Linked DNA regions of Homo sapiens: region 2 is linked to region 1. The links are contacts of gene promoters, found by promoter capture Hi-C in blood cells and fetal thymus (Javierre and others, 2016). All regions are on one chromosome and are shown on one strand. The core of a region is centred on a gene start or on the middle of the fragment in contact, and the rest is flanking DNA. Distances in the headings are between cores, read along the strand shown.

Region 1 (5,149 bases), core at 597-3,096:
CAATTTGTCTCCCAAGACTTAGGTGCTGTGGTAGAAAGGAAAAATCCCAAGCCAACAGACTTACATTTCCTTAACAACTGTATTAATGTACTAGTGACTTTTTCTGGAAAACGTATCATAGTGGAGTCCTTAAAGTTCCTTTTTCTTACCAAAATGAAGAAACTGGAGTGATGAAGATCTGCTTTTCTAGGGTAACAGCTGTCAAATTTAAAAGCTCCATTTGGGGCCAGGTGTGGTGGCTCATGCCTGTAATCCCAGCATTTTGGGAGGCCAAGACAGGCGGATCACCTGAGGTCAGGAGTTCGAGATCAGCCTGGCCAACATGGTGAAAACCTGTCCCTACTAAAAATACAAAACTTAGCCGGGCGTGGTGGCGGGCACCTATAATCCCAGCTACTCGGGAGGCTAAGCCAGGAGAATTGCTTGAACCCAGGAGGCGGAGGTTGCAGTGAGCCGAGACTGTGCCACTGCATTCCAGCCTGGATGACAGAGTGAGACTCCGTCTCAAAAAAAAAGCTCCATTTGGGAGGCCGAGGAGGGTGGATTACCTGAGGTCAGGAGTTTGAGACCAGCCTGGCCCACATAGGGAAACCCCATCTCTACTAAAAATACAAAAATTAGTCAGGTGTGGTGGCTGACACCTATAATCCCAGCTACTTGGGAAGCTGAGGCAGGGAGAATCACTTGAACCGGGGAGGTGGAGGTTGCAGTGAGCTGAGATCATGCCACTGCACTCCAGCCTGGGCGACAGGGTGAGATTCTGTCTCAAACAAACAAATTTAAAAGCTCCGAATCCTCCAAAAATACCAAGATTTTCCTGTCGGTAACTAGAGATGGGTACTGATGATTATTTTTAATAGGTGATTTTCAAAGATGTGAACGTTATCCATGGAGATTTAAGTCTCCAAAAGGAAAAAAAATGCATACCTTTATACTAAAACTTCATCACCAGTCAAATTTGGATCATCACTAAATTGGCTTCTACACCTCTCTCCTAATATAAGGTACTTGTGTAAGTTTGCAGTTGTGAGACACTTATTTCCTCATTTTTAATGTCTTCTCAGTAGGGCCACTGATATAGTCACTATTTGACTGACCAGAATGGTTGGCACTGGTGATTGGCTCATAAAGTGCCCTCGATTTAGGGGGCTCAATTATCAAAGGTTTAAATCCTAGCCCAAACCATTGCTGTGATGGGGGTTAATCAATGAACCACTCAGCTTCACTTGCAAAAGCGGGATCACAATAGCCGCTTTCGTCATGACCCAGCCTAGGTGAGATTTAGTACTTAAGTACACTGCCAGGCACACAAGGTTAATTTAACAATTTAACACATTTGTTTCCTCATCCATTTCTCCAAACCTTCCAACTAATCCTAACGTTCGTTCGGCCAAATGGGCCAGGAATTCACTTAAACAAAAACAAAAAACAAAACAAACAAAAAAACACTCCCTGGGGCTTGGGGAAGGAGGCACCGCCGCCCATGTCGCAGTCTGGGGGTGGCTCAGTCCTCAGCACCCAGATCTACGGCCATAATGCTCTTCGAGGCCAAGGAGCCCGGATGCGGGGCGTTGCCGAAGGCGTCTTGCTCAGGCTGCGGGAAAGGAGAGGGGTGGGAGCGGGGTGGGGGCATCGCGACCCAGGGCAAGGCGGCGAGTCGCCGTCTTCGAGTCCCACCTGTCCGAAGCGGGGTGAGAAAAGGCAAAACATGGCAAAGCCATGCACCTCCCAGGGTGGGCAACTCACGGCCGGTGAACGCCGGACCCTTAGCAGTTTCCAGACCTTTGGAACCGGAAGCGGAGCCTGAGAGCGCGCCCGAGAGGGCGTGAACGGGACCGCTTTCCCGGAAGTGCTTGCGGCCTCTGCCCAGCGAGCTGCCCCGGGGTCTCTCTGGTTTCCTAATCAGGGCAACGCCGCGGGAGAGAACCTTTACCTTGGCTGCACTAAGTTCTCGGTGCCACTCCCTGGCAGGGCGGGACCTTGTTTAGGCCCTGTGATCGCGCGGTTCGTAGTAGCGCAAGGCGCAGAGTGGACCTTGACCCGCCTAGGGCGGGAAGAGTTTGGCCCGCCGGGTCCCAAAGGGCAGAATGGACGGGCTCCTAAATCCCAGGGAATCCTCTAAATTCATTGCAGAAAACAGTCGGGATGTGTTTATTGACAGCGGAGGCGTACGGAGGGTGGCAGAGCTGCTGCTGGCCAAGGCGGCGGGGCCAGAGCTGCGCGTGGAGGGGTGGAAAGCCCTTCATGAGCTGAACCCCAGGGCGGCCGACGAGGCCGCGGTCAACTGGGTGTTCGTGACAGACACGCTCAACTTCTCCTTTTGGTCGGAGCAGGACGAGCACAAGTGTGTGGTGAGGTACAGAGGGAAAACATACAGTGGGTACTGGTCCCTGTGCGCCGCCGTCAACAGAGCCCTCGACGAAGGTTGGTGCCATACTTGCCATCGGACCTAACGGCCTTTGAGGTTTCCATTTACTTGGGGTGTGTGTAGGGGAGTTCCAAGGAGCGGGTTGGGAGATGGAATAATGGAAAGCGAACCTGAAGTTCGTTGCAAGTCCTTATGCTTAAAATAGAAGTATGAAAAGGGGCATATTTTAGTGGAAAATGATGTTAATATTTATCATTGCAGCATAAAAGTTACAGTAGCATAAAAGTCAGTTTTATAAAGAATGCCATTTGAATGACACCTGAAGAACAAAAGGACCGATGTTATAAAGCAATTTACTCAGAATACATCTGATGTAATATTGCAATAGTTAGAAATGGGTGAATAAGTACAGATGAACAAGTAGAAAATGAGTTTTGCTTTAGATTTTTTATTCTTCCACTTTTGGTGCATTCCTATACCACTCATTTGGTTTCATATTAATTCCATGTTGTAAAAGCAAGGGTTTAATGCATATGGAAGTATGACATTGGTCCTCTGAATTTTATTTTTTCACTAAAGGGATACCAATAACTAGTGCCTCGTACTACGCGACAGTGACCCTGGATCAGGTTCGGAATATACTTCGTTCTGACACAGACGTTTCCATGCCTTTAGTAGAAGAGAGGCATCGGATTCTCAATGAAACCGGGAAAATTCTGCTGGAGAAGTTTGGAGGCTCTTTTCTCAACTGCGTCCGAGAAAGTGAGAATAGTGCGCAGAAGTTAATGCACCTGGTGGTTGAAAGTTTTCCTTCTTACAGAGATGTGACTCTGTTTGAGGTGAGTTGCTTCTGTTGGGGATTTTAGAAGTCTTAATCATCTCAGAGTTAACTCTTTTACTTCCAGAACTCATTTTAAGAATAAAAACTTAAATTTTTAAATGTATTCCTTGTGGAAGAAACTAACAAAATCAAGTAGTGTTTCAAAGTCATTTCTTATGTTTTCTTTTGTTTGTTTGTTTGAGACAGAGTTTTGCTCTTGTTGCGCAGGCTGGAGTGCAGTGGCGTGATCTTGGCTCACCGCAACCTCTGCCTCCCGGGTTCAAGCGATTCTCCTGCCTCAGCCTCCCGAGTAGCTTGGATTACAGGGATGCGCCACCAAGCCCGGCTAATTTTATGTATTTTTAGTAGAGACGGGGTTTCACTATGTTGGCCAGGCTGGTCTCAAACTCCCGACCTCAGGTAATCTGGTCGCCTCAGCCTCCCAAAGTGTTGTGATTACAGGCGTGAACCACCACGCTGGCGTCATTTCTTTCCTTTTTTTTTTTTTTTTTTTTTTTTTGAGATGGACTCTTACTCTGTCACCCAGGCTAGAGTGCAGTGGCGCGATCTTGGCTCACTGCAAACTCCGCCTCCCGGGTTCAGGTGATTCACCTGCCTCAGTCTCCCGACTAGCTGGGATTACAGGTGCCCGCCACTGCGCTAGGCTAATTTTTGTATTTTTAGTAGAGACGGGGTTTCACCATGTTGGCCAGGCTGGTCTTGAATTCCTGACCTCGTGATCCACCCACCTCGGTCTCCCAAAGTGCTGGGATTACAGGCGTGAGCCACTGTGCCGGGCCTTTTTTTTTTCTTTCCCTGAGATGGAGTCTTGCTCTGACTCCCAGGCTGGAGTGCAGTGGCACTATCTCAGCTCACTGCAACCTCCGCCTCCCGGGTTCAAGCGATTCTCCTGCCTTTGCCTCCTGAGTAGCTGGGACTACAGGCGCATGCCACCACACCTGGCTAAGTTTTTTTGTATTTTTAGTAGAGATGGAGTTTCATCTCATTTCTTATGTTTTCTAATCAATATTTCATTCTTTACTTCCTTTTTTTTCCTTTTAAAATGTTTCAAACCTAAAAAACATGGAACCCTCCATGTAATGTTCTCCTTATGGAAAATTAAGTATTTTTAGTACTTCAAGAAGGTTACTTTATTGGTTGAAGATCAGAATGTATACTAACCTCTCCCTAATAAAAAGTATTTCTGGCCAGACTCGGTGGCTCACTCCTGTAATCCCAGCACTTTGGGAGGCCTAGGTAGGTGGATCAACTGAGGTCAGGAGCTCAAGACCAGCCTAGCAACATGGTGAAACCCCATCTCTACTAAAAATACAAAAATTAGCTGGGTATGGTTGCACGCACCTGTAGTCCCAGCTACTTAGGAGGCTGAGGCAGGAGAATCGCTTGAACCCGAGAGGTGGAGGCTGCAGTGAGCCGAGATTGCACCACTGCACTCCAGCCTAGACGAGACAGAATTAGACTCTATCTCAAAAAAGTATTTCTTGAAAAGTTCAGTGTACTGTATATATATTTTGTGTTTTCTTTTTCATACACAGTGTACTTGAACAAATGATGATCATTTTGTTGGACCCTCACAGGCTGCACCCGGATTTTGTTTTTGTAAAATTCTTTTGGAATCTTTTGAACCTGGGAGGGGGAGGTTGCAGTGAGCCGAGATTACGCCACCGCACTCCAGCCTGGGTGACAGAGCTGGACTCCATCTCAAAAAAATAAAAGAAAAAATAAAAGAAATTGGCTTGGCGTGGTGGCTCACACCTGTAATCCCAGCACTTTGGGGGGCCAAGGCGGGTAGATCACAAGGTCAGGAGTTCAAGACCAGCCTGGCCAACGTGGTGAAACCCCGTCTCTACTAAAAATATAAAAATTAGCCGGGTGTGGTGGTGGGTGCCTGTAATCCCAGCTACTCAGGAGGCTGAGGCAGGAGAACCACTTGAACCCAG
Region 2 (5,161 bases), core at 1,443-3,942, 110 kb before region 1:
AAAATAGTAGGTTCAAATTTAGATATTTCAATAATTACATGTAAATGCTAAATTAAGTGTAAATATTCTAACTATATCAATTAAAAGACAGAGATCAGAATGGATATAAATGGATTTAGAAGTCAATAAAAACATGAGATCACATGTTGCCTACAAGAAATGCACCACAAATATAAAGATATAGGTATGTTAAGTAAAATAATGGAAAGAATATACCATTCAAACACGAATTAAAAGAAAGCTGGCATGGCGTTATTAGTAACAGACAAAGTAAATGTTAGAGCCAGGGATAAAGAGACATTATACAATGATAAAAGGGTCAGTTCATCAAAAACACATAACAATCCTAAATGTGTATGCACCTAACAACAAAGCAGGCTGGACGCAGTGGCTCACACCTATAATCCTAGCACTTTGGGAAGCCAAGGTGGGCAGATCACCTGAGCTCAGGAGTTTGAGACAACCCTGGGCAACGTGACAAAACCCCATCTCCATGAAAAATACAAAAATTAGCCAGGCGTGGTGGTGCACACCTGTAGTCTCAGCTACTTGGGGGGCTAAGGGCAGGAGGATCACTTGAGCCTGGGAAGTTGAGGCTGCAGTGAGCTGTGTTCACACCACTGCAATCCAGCCTGGGTGACAAAGTGAGACCTTGTCACAAAACAAACAAATGAACAAGTAAAAAACATAAAGCTTCATGAACTAAAAAGTGAGAGAACTAAAAGAAGAAATAGATACATCCAAAATTATAATTGGAGACTTCTATACTTCTCTCTCGCTAATCAACAGAACTAGTAGATATAAAATTAGCAAGGATATAGAACAGAACAATACTATCAACCAACTAAATCTAATTTCATTATAGGACATTTCATTCGACAGGTAGATTGTACATTTTTTTCAGATACTTATGAAACATTCACCAAGACAGAGTGTATCCTATAGATTTCAAAGAGTTGAGTCATGCAAAGTATGTTCCCTGACTGTAATGGAATTAAGCTAGAAATCAATAATAGGAAGATAACAGGAAAATCTACAAAACACTTGGAAATTAAACAATATACTTCTAAATAATCCATGGGTCAAAGCGGAGTTATCAAGGGAAATTAGAAAATATTTTTAACTGAATAAAATAAAACTACAATATATCAAAAATTATGGAATGAAATTAAAGGAGAGCTTAGAGGGAAATTTAAAGCATTAAATGCTCACATTAAGAAAGAAGGTCTCAAATTAGTTCATTTAAGCTTCTACCTGGAACAAAATAAATCCAATGCAAGCACAAGGAAGAGGATAAAAAAGTTAAAAGCAACAATCAATGAAACGGAAAAAAGAAAAACAGTAGAGAATATTAGTGAAACAAAGAGGTAGTTCCCTTTAAGAGATCAATACGATTGATAAGTTTCCATCAAGACTAAAAAAGAAGATCAATAAAACGGATAAACCTGATATGGTCTGGATTTGTGTCCCTGACTAAATCTCACGTAAAATTGTAATCCCCCTGTGTTGGAGGAGGAGCCTGGTGGGAGGTGATTGGATCCAGAGGGTGGATTTCCTCCTTGCTGTTCTCGGGTTAGTGAGTGAGTTCTCACGAGATCTGGTTGTTCGAAAGTGTGTAGCACCCCCACCCTCGCTCTCTCCTCCTCCTGCTCCAGCCGTGTAAGGCATGCCTCCTTCCTCTTCACCTTCCACCATGATTGAAAGTTTCTTGAGGCCTCCTCAGCCATGCGTCCAGTATAGCCTACAAAACTGTGTGAGCCAATTAAACCTTTTTTCTTTATAAATTACCCAGTCTCAGGTAGTTCTTAATAGCAATTAGAGAACAGACTAATACAAACTTCTAGCAACACTGACAAAGGAAAAAACAGAGAAGTCACAAACTACCAACATCAGGAATAAAAAGGGTGACATACCGTAGAAATTAAAAGAATAATAAGAGGATGTTGCAAACGATTCTACACACATAAATTCAATAACAGATAAAATGGAGCACTTCTGCAAACCACAAACTAACAACTCACTCAAGATGAAATAGAAAACCTGGGGAAAATTGAATTAGGAGTTAAAAATCACCTGAAAAAGAAATCTTCAGGCTCCAGGTACTTAATTGATGAATTCTACCAAAACCATTAAAGACGAAATGGCCAGGCATGGTGTCTCACCTCTGTAATCCTAGCACTTTTGGGAGGCCGAGGCTGGTAGATCACTTGAGGTCAGGAGTTTGAGACCAGCCTGGCCAACATGGTAAAACCCTGTCTCTACCAAAAATACAAAAATTAGCTGGGAGTGGTGGCACGCACCTGTAGTCCTAGCTACTAGGGAGGCTGAGGCAGGAAGATCACTTGTAACCCAGCAGGCAGAGGTTACAGTGAGCCAAGATCGTGCCACTGCACTCCAGCCTGGGAGACAGAGCAAGACTCCGTCTCAAAAAAAAAAATTAAGAAATAACACAGATTCTTTTTTCTTTTTTTTTTTCTGATGGCATCTCACTCTGTCACCCAGGTTGGAGTGCAGTGGCGCAATCTTGGCTCTCTGCAAGCTCCGCCTCCCGGGTTCACGCCACTCTCCTGCCTCAGCCTCCCAAGTAGCTGGGACTACAGGCACCCGCCACCACACCCGGCTAATTTTTTTGTATTTCTAGTAGAGACGGGGTTTCACCATGTTAGCCAGGATGGTCTGGATCTCCTGACCTTGTGATCCGCCCGCCTTGGCTGGGATTACAGGCATGAGCCACCGCGCCTGGCGAAATAATACAGATTCTAAACAAACTTTCCCAGAAAATAAAAGAGAAGGGAACACTTCCCAACTTATTTTATCAGGCCAGCATTACTCTGATACTAAGTCCAGACAAAGATATTACAAGAAAATAAAATGATATGCCTTATGAATATTTTTGCAAAAACACTCAATAAAATATTAGCAAATTTAATCCAACAAGATATAAAAAAGAATAACATACTTGTTCAACATGCAAACATCAATCAATGTAACCCATCATTATGACATTCTAAAGAAAACCACATGATCCTATCAATGTATGCAAAAATATCACTTGGCAAAATTCAATATTCATTCGTGATTTTAAAAACTCTCAGCAAACCGAAATAGAGTGGAACTTCCTTAACCTAATAAAAGGTATTGTCAGTGGGCTAAATTGTGTTACCCCAAAATTTATGTAATGCCCTAATCCCCAGTACCTCAGAATGTGACTGTGTTTGGAGACAGAACCTTTAAAGAGGTAACTAAATCAAAATGAGGCCGTTAGGGTGGACCCTAATCCAATCTGACTGTCGTCTCTATGAGAAGAGGAAATTTGGACAAACAGAGAAGCACCAGGGATAAGCCCGCACAGAGGAAAGACCATATAAGGATATAGCGAGAAGGAGGCCGTCCACAAGCCAGGAAGAGAAGCTCCAAAGAAAATAAACCTGCCTACACCTGGTTCTTGGACTTCTAGGCTCCAGAAATGTGAGAAACAAACTTCTGTTATTTAAGCCACTCAGTTGATGGTACTTTGTTATGGAAACCTTAGCAAACTAATACAAGTACCTACAAAATATCTACAGCTAACATTATATTTAGGGATGAAAGGCTGAATGATTTTTCTCCCAAGATCAGGAATAAAGCAAGAATGTCTGCTGTCATTGCTCTAGTGCTTACGAAGAGGAGAGTTCAGGTGATTTATCAAGGTAGCCCATTCCAGAGATGTTATCTCCTCAGGTCAATACCCCCCAAGACCAACTACACACACACACACACACAAACACACACACATATACACATACACCTGTTATCTGGATGTCTTAGTTAAAACTAATTTTCACCCACAATATCAAAATAGTTGCCTCAATTCACTTTAAGTGTCCAGAAGCAGCTTGGGCATAATGAGGAAAACGGACAGGGAATCAAATTAGCAGCAGGATTATGAGGTCTGCATAAAAGAAAACTTAAAAAGGAAAGAAGAATTTCAGGGCACTCATATATGAAAATTACAGCCTGCACATCCCTGCAGTGTTATAAAGGGTCAGAGTGCATTTGATGGAGCTTTCTAACCATTATGTTCTCTGGTCATAATATAATATCTGTATTCTAATTAAAAAGGAGAAAAGGATGATTATTTAAAAAGCATAAAGCTTCTTAGAAACCTCAGTTTCTGGCATTTATTTGAAGGTTTCTACTCTCCCCACATATAATGTATCTGAGCAATTTAGAACTATATCTAACAGGCTCCACTTCACATCTACTCTTGCAAGAAAACGGTTTCATGCAAAATGTGAAAATTGCAGCCGGAGCCATTATGTAAGCTACTTAACCTATAGTAGGGGAGGTCTACATGCTATATGTTGCTCTGGATTGTCATGGAAAAAAAAGGTTCAAAAGAAAATAAGGATTATGTTCTGAGGCTGTTTTTCCCTGAGGCTCTTTAAACAATGCCTCTATCTGTTCCCCATTTTCCAATTGTCTTTTCCAGAGATGTGGCAATAATTTAGTTGTATTATGTGCTGTCACTTCTGCATTAATAAACACCAGGACCTGCTGAGTAATTACAGAATAACCTCATAATAAAATGCAGTGAAGAGCTCTAATTAAATGTTAATGTTGCTTAAAACTATCCTACTTTAAAATGAAAATTTTCCATCCATGTATCCTAATGAGTTATCAGAATGCATTACTCCCAAATAAAATGTACAAACGAGAAGGTAAACATAAAATATTACCACCAGTAGGCATGTGTGTGGAAACATTTATAATCAAAATTAATATACTACATTAAAATTACTGAAATATAAATGCATACCAAAATGCTGTAACAACAATGGGGGAAGATTTTTATGAAAGCTCATGCTTCACTTTGAAAGGGAAAAATGCCAAATTATTCTTCAGTCACGTAGTAGGCAATAGAGGTTAAAGCTACTTCTGAACATGGGACTAACACAAGTTAAACTAAGAACATCTACAACTTCTATAAAATAATAGAGCTAAAAGAAAACTCACTGTCTAATTGAAGAAACAAGGACTTCCATTTACTTTATTCTTTAAAATCTGCCAAGAAGGGGTTCCCCTCCCATATTATGTTGCTCTGCTTCTTCACCCACACATCATCCTTCTGGGCATTTAGTGTGCTGACCTAGGTAGACATGGTGAAAATCTATTACTCATA

The links. Contacts are between HindIII fragments. The CHiCAGO score rates a contact against its expected background, and 5 or more counts as called.
Region 2: a contact is called between a fragment that was not itself captured here and the fragment with the promoter of QNG1 in region 1, in 2 of 17 cell types (naive CD8 T cells and neutrophils). The highest score is 5.1, in naive CD8 T cells.

What each region holds. Positions count from the first base shown.
Region 1 is chr9:83,953,439-83,958,587 of GRCh38, reverse strand. QNG1 (Q-nucleotide N-glycosylase 1) reads left to right here and starts at 1,846. Exons shown (of 4, transcript NM_032307.5): 1 at 1,846-2,424; 2 at 2,948-3,207. The coding sequence starts at 2,088. The HindIII fragment of the contact is 8,080 bases long and covers 1-5,149 here.
Region 2 is chr9:84,067,262-84,072,422 of GRCh38, reverse strand. LOC101927575 (a long non-coding RNA gene) reads right to left here. Exons shown (of 9, transcript NR_110995.1): 2 at 4,996-5,128. Among named protein-coding and RNA genes, the nearest start is that of RMI1, 89 kb to the right of the region's middle. The HindIII fragment of the contact is 2,886 bases long and covers 1,250-4,135 here.